Regions from separate parts of the Homo sapiens genome. Here regions 2, 3 and 4 are each linked to region 1. The links are contacts of gene promoters, found by promoter capture Hi-C in blood cells and fetal thymus (Javierre and others, 2016). All regions are on one chromosome and are shown on one strand. The core of a region is centred on a gene start or on the middle of the fragment in contact, and the rest is flanking DNA. Distances in the headings are between cores, read along the strand shown. Region 1 holds the start of ARMC3 (armadillo repeat containing 3). Region 2 overlaps PIP4K2A (phosphatidylinositol-5-phosphate 4-kinase type 2 alpha). Region 3 overlaps PIP4K2A (phosphatidylinositol-5-phosphate 4-kinase type 2 alpha). Region 4 holds the start of LOC124902393.

Region 1 (2,812 bases), core at 201-2,700:
TGGAAGACAGGGAGAGGCTGAAAATACAGGTGTATATTATTCAAGGTCCAATCATATAACACTTGATGACGCTTATATTCTTGAAACTCCCTCCTTAGTTTCCTTGATGCTACTTGGTCTTAATCCTTTTCCTACTTTCATGACCATTACTTAAGATCTTTTCTATACAGAAGTCACACCGGATATTTGACCATGGAAAACTGAATACAAATAATTGTTATAAAGCTGTTTATCAGGCAATTTAAATGGTGAGAAGAGAACATAAGATATATAAAAGTAGCAATTATAAGAAGCATCTATCATTCTTAGGACTGGGAGACCAACAGGGGCCGGTAGGAGACGGAATTTGCAAAGTCTAAGAGGAGAGGGAGAGACTTTTTGCTAAAGGCAATCAAAAAATATTTTATGAAGATGGCATTTGAGCTGGGCTTAATTAAGTGGAAATGAGAGAATATTTCAGGTATTGCACATGACCTGGGAAATAGAAGCTACTTTATAAATATTTGTTGAAAAATGAAGTGATGAACAGATAAGCAAGAAAATCTAGAGAAAAGTGTGGAAAATTTCGGGAACAGTAAGTTTGGCTGGAGCTTGGATGGTGGAGATCGGTTGAAAATGTGGTTGCACAGATGGAGTAGAGATGGAGCAGACGGTCTTAAATTCCAGGCCAATGTGTTGAAAATTTATCTTAGGAAGCCGCTGACATTTGAGTAGGGAAGTGACAAGACTGGAACGATGATTTCTGGATGGCCGATTTGCCTGTGATACGTAGAAAGAACTGTAAGCAGAGAGCAACTGAATTTCTCAGCCAGAAGGCCAAAAAATGACGAGCTGGATTGAAGTGACAATAAGGATATGAGAAAGGGAACAAGCAGGAAACAAAATGTAAGCCGCCAAGAAGTGGCTGAAGTGATGACTGTGGTTGGGGGGCATGGGAGGAAGAAGGGAAATTGAAGCTCCTTCTGAGTCTAGGCAATTGGAAGAATGGCAGGAAGAGGAAAGAAAGAGGAAGAGAACGGGGCTTTGAAGGGCCATGAGAAGTTCTGTGGAAACGGATTGGACATCCTAGTGCAAAGAGATGTGGCAGTGCAGGTCTGCAGCTTAACGGAGCCTGGGCAGGAGGTGGCTGATGTGGGTTTCATCTGCATAGAGATTCCGGCTGACGCCTCTATTTGGAAGAATGCAATAGTATTTGCGTATTTGAACCCACAGCCAGTCCTTGGGCCAGAAACTGAGGCTGAACTGCCTCTTGATTTACAGCTTCCACCCCCAGTTTCCATTCTCCCCTAAAGCACTGGATTCAGGTAATCGCGGACGCACTTGGCTCCTCCCGCACTGGCCGCTGCCCTCGGCGGGACAATGGGCGCCCTAGCAGCCCCGAGCGTTCCCAGGGCGCAGGCGCGGCGCGGCGTGGCGTCGCCTAGCAACGAGGCACAACAAGGGACTGGGGGTTCGTCTGCTGGGTTTGCGGAGCAGCTAGCTACTCGGCGGGATCTCCCGGCAGGTAAAGGTAACCCCGTGGGGTGGGGAGGCCCAAGGCAGAGGCCTGAGGAAAACCTGGGAAAGGAGAAGGTGCCACGTGGGCGCAGACTGCTTGGGTCAGTGAGGCAACACCTTGCTGGGCGTTGTTAGTTTCTGCCTCGCGCCCGCAGGGTTAGACGGGGCTTGGGGTGGGTTTCGTAAGCATCCCGCCACCTCCCATTCAACAGGTGACAAAACTGAGGCCCGAGAGGGGATCTGAGGTGAGATCAAGTCAGATTCCGTTACTTGACTGTGAGCAACTCAGAAGTGGCCTCGATTTCTTGAGCCCTCCTCCTCTTTAAATCTTCTCAAAGCAGAACTCATTAGAAAATATTTAAAATCATAGGCTGAACGTTCACGAAGAACAAATACAAAGGACCAATCAACTCGTGAAAAAAAAAATGGCTCCAGTAGTCAAGAAGATGCATTTTTAGAGCAGAGTTGTTTGCATATCCAATGCCCTGAAGTTTTCACCCAGTTAATTTACTGCTAGAGATTTATCCTAAAGAAATAGTTGGGGATAATGGATGAAAATTTTATGTCCAAGGACGTTCTTTCAGCCCTGTCCATATTTCCAGAAAATTAGAAACAAATTTCAACAATCAGAGACTGGCTAGATAGCTAAGGGATTTTAAAATATTTGTAATGGCATGTTATGCTAATCCACTGGAGATTATTAAAGCAATGAAGGGAAACTGAGACTTCATGAATTTATTTGTTAATATAAGAATTTAGTAGGAATATGAACCCAGGAAGGGAAGGTGAAAGTAGGGGATAGAAGTTGAGGCAGGATGTTAAAATCACTTTAGAAAAACACACAAAGCCAGGTACGGTGGCTCACGCCTACAACCCCAGCACTTTGGGAGGCTGAGGCGGGTGGATCGCCTGAAGTCAGGAGTTCGAGACCAACCTGGTCAATGTGGGGAAACCTGTCTCTACTGAAAATACAAAAATTAGCCGAGCGTGGTGGCGGGTACCTGTAATCCCAGCTACTCAGGAGGCTGAGGCAGGAGAATCTCTTAAACCTGGGAGGTGGAGGTTGCAATGAGCCAAGATCAGGCCACTCTCCAGCCTGGGCAACAGAGTGAGACTCTGTCTCAAAAAAGAAAAAGAAAAAGAAAAAAAGAGAAGAGAGAGAGAGAGGGAGAGAGAGAGAGAGAAAGAGAGAGAGAAAGAGAAAGAAAAAGAAAAAGAAAGGAAAGGAAAGGAAAGGAAAGGAAAAGAAAAGAAATAGTATTGATCTCTCTGAGCTTATCTTTGGGTGATTTTTATTTTATTCGTTGTGCCCTTG
Region 2 (2,734 bases), core at 180-2,679, 310 kb before region 1:
TCGATATCTTGTGGAACAAGAGAAAGCGAAACCCAACGTGGAGGTGGGATCAGACACTGATTATTTAAATGCGCGTGATGTGTTCAGCAGATCCTCCAAAGCTTTGATGCCTCCTCAGGCTGCTTAAATCAGTATCACTTAAGAGAGTCTTCTCAGACAGGAAACAGGAAACCAGAAACTTTCTGCATCCTTTTGCTTTATGGTACCTGCTCTGGAACATGTTTTGTGGAGAAAATATGAAAACTTCAGCCAACATGGAATGAGTAAACTGAGAATTTTCCTTATTGATTTTCCTTCCCCACCCATCCTCGCGTCAGCACAACCTTTAAGAGTCCACTCTGTGCTGGGCACAGCTCGGACACCAGTCTTTGTCCTCTTGGGGCTTATGGTCCAGAGGGGCAGACACATTAACTGAAGAACTGCCCCAAGTGTTGAACTCTAACAATGACAGAGTCAGGAGGGAGAAGCACAATGGGCTACGAGCAAGTATGGAAAAGGCCCAGGCCAGATGGGGGAGGCATGTGAGGCTTCCCTGGGCAGCAATGGCTCGTGGAGAAAGGAGAGGGCAGGTGGACAGGGCTTCCAGGAAGAAGGCGAGTCCTAGAGAGGAGGGGACACTGTTAATGGGAAAACAGTGCAGAAATAGACAAGGTGCGTGGCATGAAAGGGATGAACAACAGGCCCAGGAGCACCGGGAAGCGGCTGCTGTAGAATTGCACCAGACAGAGGAGAGCAGCTCAGCAGAGGGCGGAGGCGGCAGCAGAAACGAAAGAAGCAGAGAGACTCCGGCATGCTGAAGTGCTGAAATCTATGGGGCTTGATGATGACAGACTAGAAATGTAGGGAAAGATGGAGGGAATGCTGCATGCATGCGGGGGAAGCTGGTGGGTCCAACGACTGGCACAATGCATCTTAAGAGAAGAGTTCAGTTTTGAGCTTGTTAAACTTCATGCGCTCTTGGGACATCTAAGTGTCAATGTCAGGTAGGCCGTGGACAGGTGGGTCTGAAGTTCCCAGGGGCAGCAGGGGCAAGAGATAAAAATGTGTGTATCTGTGCATCAGACATTAGCTCCCCAGAGGAGTGGATGAGGTAACCTGGAGAGGGGCCGGTGTGATGGGGAGGAAGGCGGAGAAGCAGTCTTCAAGAACGGGAATGTTTCCAAGCCTGGAGAAGAGGATGAGAAAGGGGAAAACTGCCATCGAGGCAGGAAGTGAAAAAGCACAGGGCCACCCAATGGGAGTGAAGGGAAAAGGGGGTTCAAACATGCTATGGGATGATCATGATGCTTTTGAGAAGGCAGGGACTGGGAAATGTCAGCCAGATTGAACGGCACAGGAGGTCCTTGGCAACCTTGGCAGAGTTGTTTCGGTGGAGTGTAGCAATGGAACCCAGACTAAGTTGAGTTAAGGAAATGCTGGCACTGCACAGGGCTGATTTCTAAGGAGCCTGGCAGGGAAGGACAGGAGCGAGATGAAGAGGGATGAGGGACAGAGGGAGGACCTGACAGAGAAGGGACATTCCGTAGCACTTCTCGAGAAAGTGGGAGGGGATGGGATTCAGGCATGCAGGAAGGAGAGGCTCTGAGGAGGGAAGCGACTTTCCTGTTCACAGGAGGGAAAAGAGATAGGTGTCATGGGGAGGGAGCAGAACTGATGGAGGGAAGATGGGGCTCCCGACCACTGGCTCCTATTTTCTCTGGGGATTAGGGCCATGGCCACCTGCTAAGAGTGAGAAGCAGGCTGAGGACTTCAAAGGTTAAAGAGAACACAGAGAGCTTAAAAAGGGGACTGCAGAATGTGGATGGACAAGTTTAAATAGAGACAGGAGGCTGGGCTTCCGGGCAGAGCTGAGCGTCATCCACAGTTTGTGATGGTTCACGTACAGGAACCAAGTGAACTTGTGGATGACATTCCTCATTCTGGCAGAGCTCAACCCCAGGGTGCAGGTGCAGAGACAGGATGACAGGCGTTCTTCAGGATGGAGGGTGTTTGCTGGCTGAGTGTGACATAAAGGGGAAAGGAGTTCCAGGACCATCACTTGGAAATGGAAAGTCAGTACAAAACAAGATCCCTGACTGTAAGGAGTTTTCCACTGTAGTCGATGGTGCAAGACCTTCACATGTAGTAAAATACCAAGCAGCACAGAAGAAATGCTGAAGCCAGACAACAAGTGCCACAGAAGCACAGAGCAGGAGCCCGTGGTCACGGGTGTGGGTGACGGGCTTCTTGGAAGGAGTGCAGCCCTACATGGCCCTTGAGGGACGGAGAGTTCTGACTACTGTGTCATTTAAATGTCAGGGAAACACAAACTTTTAGCTATTCCCCATCTTCCAAAACCAGACTACCCCAAGAGGTAGAGAATGTTTGGTCCTCTTTATCTAAGAAGACAAGAAATGAGACAAGAAGAAAAATCAAATGGTTTACATGGAATCATAAGATGCTGAAATTAAAAGAGAATTTCGGAGATCATATAGTCTAACCTCTCATTTTGCAGATTGTAATATGTCCTGGTACAGCAGTATCTATACCTTCATAATTGAGTAGTGCGGCAGGATACTGAGTTAGATCTGACAGCTACTTTATGGCTACTTTATCTTTCTTCCAGGTGGCCTTTCATTCTTTACATTTGCATCACATTGCTTTTGGCTTTATTTCCCCTCCGGATTCCCCCCAGAAAACTTCTTCGTCAGGTGGTAGCTAGATTTAATGACTTGTAAACAAACACTTCACAAAA
Region 3 (2,700 bases), core at 106-2,605, 350 kb before region 1:
ACAGTGCAAAAGCAGTAACAGACAATACAGAAACAAGGGGCATCGTGGTATTCCAATAAAAATGTATTTATAAAATTGGCCCAGCCAGCCGCGGTGGTTCATGCCTATAATCCCAGCACTTTGGAAGGCCAAGGTGGGTGGATTGCTTGAGCTCAGGAGTTCAAGATCAGCCTGGGCAACATGGTGAAATCCTGTCTCCACCAAAAAATACAAAAAATTAGCTGAGCATGGTGGTGCGTGCCTGTGGTCCCAGCTACGTGGGAGGACTGCTTGAGCCAGTGGGGCAGAGGTTGCCATGAGCCAAGATTGAGCCACTGCGCTCCAGACTGAGCAACAGAGGAAGACTCTTTCTCAAAAAAAAAAGAAAAGAAAAGAAAAAAAAGTCCCTCAAGTAGGATTTGGAATTCAGGAAAGTCATAGTTTTCCAACCCCTAACTTGAACATTCTCCCCTGAATTGGTGATACCAGAAGCCAGATTATGTCACTCCACTCTCAGAATTTCCAGGGGCCCCCCTTTATCTCCAAGCCTTTGAAATGGTCTCTGTACTTACAGTTCCCTCTGCCAGCAATATTCTTCCTCAGCTCATTTCCTCATCTCCTTCAAGTCTGCTCCAATGTCATCTTTCTCAGGGGAACCTTCCCTGACAGGACTATTTAAAACCCTCCCCCTCTTTAATTCTGTCTATAGCACTTACCACTTCTGGGTATGCTCTATGACTAACTTATCACTTTTACTTACTGCCTGTCTTTACCCACCAGAATGTCAGCTCCCCGAGTGCAGGTTTGGTTTGTTCATCCCATCACTTCCAGCATCTAGAACAGTGCCTGGTATGCAGTTGGCTGAATATTTAAGTAGATGTGATATCTCTAACATGTGCCAGTGTTTTTTGGTGAGGCCAGCAAGCACTTATTGCCTCACAGGAAGGAATACACTGCTACTTGTCTGGTAGCTTTAAGTGCTGAGCGGCTCCTAAGCATTTCTGATGATCAATGACAACATTTACAATGTAGAAGAGTAAGCTTGAGTTACTTTACAAAAATTCATAAAATCAGTCTCACCTTTAAGTCGTATTTCCTATACACAGACAAACGGTGGCTGAATACATTTCTTGTAACTATCACATATATTTCAACTCCATCAACATTAAGCCGGTACATGCCCAAGAACTGGGGAAGAAGGGTGATCCCATGACATTCCACTATGTACTGCATAGGAGAGAAAGAAAAAGGAAAAAAACATCCAATCAAAAGATTGCTTCCTTAGATGTAAAATACATACGCCTATGGTGTTCATACAAAGTGAAAACCTCCAGCCATTAGGGTCTTATTTACAGAAAATGACCACATTTGTACTGCTTACCAATCACATCTGTGTTCACCATCTCTACACAGAAAAGAAAATTCAATTTTATCTCCAAACAGATTTTTTTCCAACATTCCAAATGGAATTTGTATGGTCAAACCTTGGATATGATCGTGTAAGGCAAGAGGACATGTGACTATCTTTCTCAAATTCCTTTTAAGGGATATTACACTCCACCTAGCGCCTCTGTCTTCTACCCCCAAAGCCCTGACTACAAGGCTGAGGCAGAGCAACCTGGCTGCTAAAATAGCTTCTCTAACAGTGTTGAAGTCGAGATGAAAGAGGAAATTGTGGGGAGCCCAGTGTTAGAAGCTGGGAGGGCAGAGCTAAGCTTCTCAAGAGAGCAGGGGAGAAGGGGGCAACCCCTGTGACCATAGCACCCTCGCTCCTGCTCTGCCGGCAGATGGGGACTGCCTTGTCCCTGCTGGTTTCCACCAAGTTAACTGGACAAGCCCAGGGTTGACACCATTTCCGAGGAGAGTTGCAAAAAAAACACAACACGACCTTGGCTGTTTTTCATGACCAAACTCCAGAGGGCCACAAGATGGAGCCACTTCTCCCTGAGAGCAGATTTTCATAAAACGGGTCCCTCTGCACTTCCCAAAGGAAGCTTAGGTTTTCCTTCCTTTAAAATCATGGGGAAGTAATATTTCAAAAAAGCTCTATGTCCACTGACACGTGTGCAATCTCCAGGATAATAAACAGCATAAATGGTGAGATTCCATTACTGTAAACACCATACATGTTGGGCATATTCAGAGATGCTAATGATGCAATTGGAGGGAATTCTGATCCTTTTCTACTATACTGCTTGAATTTTTCATTTTCTGTTTTTTTTTTTTTTTACAATGAGCATTTTATAAAAAATACAAAAGTAATTAAAATGTCCTTTCAAACTTCTTAGTTGTAAATACTGTTAATAATCAATTCTGATAATATTTAACCACCTTAAGAATGAAAAAGTCTTTGGTTTTGATCATTAAAGATAAACAGCATTGGTACTTGATTCTGATTTTTGCCATCTAGAGTTTTGGCAAGTTTTAAAGATGCCTCTTCCCTTTCTTTTTTCTTATTGACAATAACTGAGCTATAAATTTTAATCTCATGTAATTCCTGAGTAGAGTTTCACCTTGTTATTTGAAATTAGATGAGTGAAACATTTTCTATTTCCTTTCAAAATATAATAAATTGAGTTTTGCTAATGCAAAACAGGCAGTAAATAGCCACTGGGTGAAAAGAAAATTTCTCACATCTGATCTAGAGAAATGAAAAGGGGTTCTTGGCCTCTGTAGAAAGGTGGTTGGATGGGCCTTCAAACATGGAGACTGAGGAAGTCT
Region 4 (2,850 bases), core at 61-2,560, 370 kb before region 1:
GTTCGAGACCAGTCTGGCTAACATAGTGAGACTCCATCTCTACAAAAAAGTAATAAAACATATGAGATAACCGTGGTGGTGTGTGCCTCTCATCCCAGCTATTTGGGAGGCTGAGGTAGGAGGATCGCTTGAGCCCGGGAGGTCAAAGTTGCAGAGAGCCATGATCGCGCCACTGCACTCCAGCCTGGGTGACATAGTAAGACCCTACCTCAAAAACAAAAAGAAAAAAACGAGATGACAAAGGTTAAGTCACCTGACAATGATTCACTCTCAAGAAAATCTTACTACTTAGCTTTTTAAAAGAAATTTCAATATATCTCTCTGATAATGAGCAGTGCTTATATTAGAAACATCTTTTTTTTAAATGTGGAAAACTATACTATGATTTAATGAACTTAATAAACTCTTGGTGTAAAACTGCCTACAAAGATGACGTCTGCAGAGCAGCAGAAAATTAACTGTGGGCAGCGACAGCTTAATGTAGCAACAGATTCTACACTTTGCTTTTAAACACTGGATTATTTGCGCTTAGAGTTTTCCAAGCTTGTAGTCACTGGGTCTGGTTCTTTAATGAGTGTCTTTGATATCTTTTCTAGTTCAGTGCAGAAACAGCCAGAGGGTGGAAGAAACCCCCAGGGCTAACTAAAGACAGCTCAGAAATGCTTCTCAGCTGTGGACTCTCCGAGGCCGGCTTCCAGCCAGCGGTCAGCAACCTTTCTGAAGTGGCGGCGGGCCGAGTCTTTATTTGCGCTGAATTCAGCTCTGGCCAGTTTTGTGCAGATCAGAGCCTCTAAGTAAGGCGGGACGATTGCTGTACGACCCTCTGTACTTGCTGGGAGGGGACGAGGGTATGGGAGGGAACTGCTCTTCCCCACCCCGTCCTCCTCTGTGCGTCTAGTCCTGAGCTGGGATTCCTGCCCGGGTCGGGGGCCCCAGAGCTGCTCCAAGGCCCTGGCCAGCTGAGGCCCCGTGAGTAAATACAGCCCAACGCAGAGCCAGGCTAGCACAGGCAGGGCTGTTTTCTCTCTTGCATGAGGTAATCTGCTGCGGTGGGTTGGATTCCAAGTGGCATTCATCTCCGCTAATGTGACGTGTAAATGCACAAACACAGCCACAGGCATCAGCAGAGGGACGCCGTTCCCCCCGCAGCCTGGCTGTCCTGCTTCCCGTTCGGATAAAATGAGCCCTTCACTGTCATACGGAGTGATGCCCGACCCCAGGTCGACTAGGCATGGCTCAGCTTTCCACGTAGGAGACAAACTGAAGCCCATGGTTATGTGAACACACTAGATCCAGGCTGCCTGGGTTGTAGCTCCGCAACTCCAATTATTAGCTATGTGACTCTGGCAAGTTAAGTTACCTCTCTGTGACTTGGTTTCCCATCTTTAAAGGGGGATTTGCAAACATAGGGTTGTGAGGGTTGCATGAGTTCACACATGTAAAAAGGCCTAAAATGGTGCCTGCCACACAGTGTGTTATATACAAACGTCGTTATATGCTAATCATGTTCTCAAGTATGGCTTATGGATCTAGGAAAAGCGCATCGCTGATCAATCCAGAGCAAGATTTTTCTTTTAAAAAATATACTGACATATTTAACATTTTAACACTAGCTGTGATGTTCTGGGCCAGTTGCTTAGTCTGCCCAAACCTCAGTTTCCTTACTTATATAATGGGTAATTAATAATACTGTACCTATGTAATAGGGTTAGTGTGTAAATCAAATGACACAAAGCACATAGTGCCTGGCAATAGTAACTTGCTATGTCTATTTCTTCTAAAATAGGGTCTTTAAACTTAGGATACCTTCTAGTTGATACCTGGATAATTAAAAAAAAAAAACAATTTATGATGTCGGTAATCTAAACCTGGGGGTCCAATCTTTTAGCTTCCCTGGGCCACACTGGAAGAAGAATTGTCTTGGGCCACACATAGAATCAGTGAACACTAATGAGAGCTGATGAGCTTAAAAAAAAAAAAAAAATCACAAGAAAATCTCATCATGTTTTAAGAAAGTTTACGGATTTGTACTGGGCCACATTCAAAGCCGTCCTGGGCCCCATGCAGCCCGTGAGCGACAAGCTTTATTTAAACGATGTTTAAAATTTCCTTTGTTTTTAGGTTTTATCTGCTAGTTACAAACATGTCACATGAATTCTCTACATACTGTCTTCAAATTTGGAAGACACTTTTGTCACTGCACACTGCACACAAACCTACCATACATGAGGGCAAAGTTAGTATTTCATTTCACTACACAGGACCCACGGGGAACACAGAGGGCACATGAGACAGGATGCATCGAAGGTGACATGGCCCGAGGCGCCAACCTCCCTGTCGTGGCGGCTCTAGTTCCCTACACTGCTTTGCAAACCTCAATTGTGAATGCTACCAGCTAGAAAAACCTCTGTGATCACCTGCAAAAGCTATTCCTAGTAGGAAACCTCACTGAAAAGACCTTTTGTTTAAACTGAAACCCAAATGAGAGTAAAATGTCCCTATCTTATCATAAAAATTGGACTGGTTAAATTCCTGAAGTAATAAAGAATTTGAAATTTATGATCTTTATTCAATATATGGAATAAAATGTAATGATTTTACGTATCTGGCCAAAGACAGAAATTTGCTGACTTCTGTCTTACCTTAATTTTCCATGGGTTAGTTTTTTCTCAGCACATTATAATAGTGGATAATTTAGTGAATGCTGTTTTGCTGACCTAAAGCAAAAATCCACAGAAGCTGAAATCTTAGTAGCCAGAAAATATAACCAAAATACTAGGGAATGGTGAACTCACTCCTAGGGAGCAGTGAACCCACTGGGAACATTTAACTTGCTATGAGTTGTAAAAA

Evidence for each region. Contacts are between HindIII fragments. The CHiCAGO score rates a contact against its expected background, and 5 or more counts as called.
Region 2: a contact is called between a fragment that was not itself captured here and the fragment with the promoter of ARMC3 in region 1, in 5 of 17 cell types (megakaryocytes, naive CD4 T cells, naive CD8 T cells and 2 more). The highest score is 7.2, in megakaryocytes.
Region 3: a fragment that was not itself captured here is called in contact with the fragment with the promoter of ARMC3 in region 1 in 14 of 17 cell types (non-activated CD4 T cells, fetal thymus, activated CD4 T cells and 11 more); the score reaches 7.9 in non-activated CD4 T cells.
Region 4: a contact is called between a fragment that was not itself captured here and the fragment with the promoter of ARMC3 in region 1, in 1 of 17 cell types (total CD8 T cells). The highest score is 5.0, in total CD8 T cells.

What each region holds. Positions count from the first base shown.
Region 1 is chr10:22,926,603-22,929,414 of GRCh38, forward strand. ARMC3 (armadillo repeat containing 3) reads left to right here and starts at 1,451. Exons shown (of 19, transcript NM_173081.5): 1 at 1,451-1,504. The HindIII fragment of the contact is 5,434 bases long and covers 1-2,812 here.
Region 2 is chr10:22,611,848-22,614,581 of GRCh38, forward strand. The region is part of intron 1 of PIP4K2A (phosphatidylinositol-5-phosphate 4-kinase type 2 alpha); the gene reads right to left. Among named protein-coding and RNA genes, the nearest start is that of PIP4K2A, 100 kb to the right of the region's middle. The HindIII fragment of the contact is 2,660 bases long and covers 100-2,734 here.
Region 3 is chr10:22,572,252-22,574,951 of GRCh38, forward strand. It overlaps PIP4K2A (phosphatidylinositol-5-phosphate 4-kinase type 2 alpha), which reads right to left. Exons shown (of 10, transcript NM_005028.5): 5 at 1,060-1,206. Among named protein-coding and RNA genes, the nearest start is that of LINC03027, 140 kb to the left of the region's middle. The HindIII fragment of the contact is 674 bases long and covers 1,019-1,692 here.
Region 4 is chr10:22,553,930-22,556,779 of GRCh38, forward strand. All of the region lies in intron 6 of PIP4K2A (phosphatidylinositol-5-phosphate 4-kinase type 2 alpha), which reads right to left. LOC124902393 reads right to left here and starts at 1,366. Exons shown (of 1, transcript XM_047426113.1): 1 at 568-1,366. The coding sequence starts at 1,271. The coding sequence ends at 654. The HindIII fragment of the contact is 1,539 bases long and covers 542-2,080 here.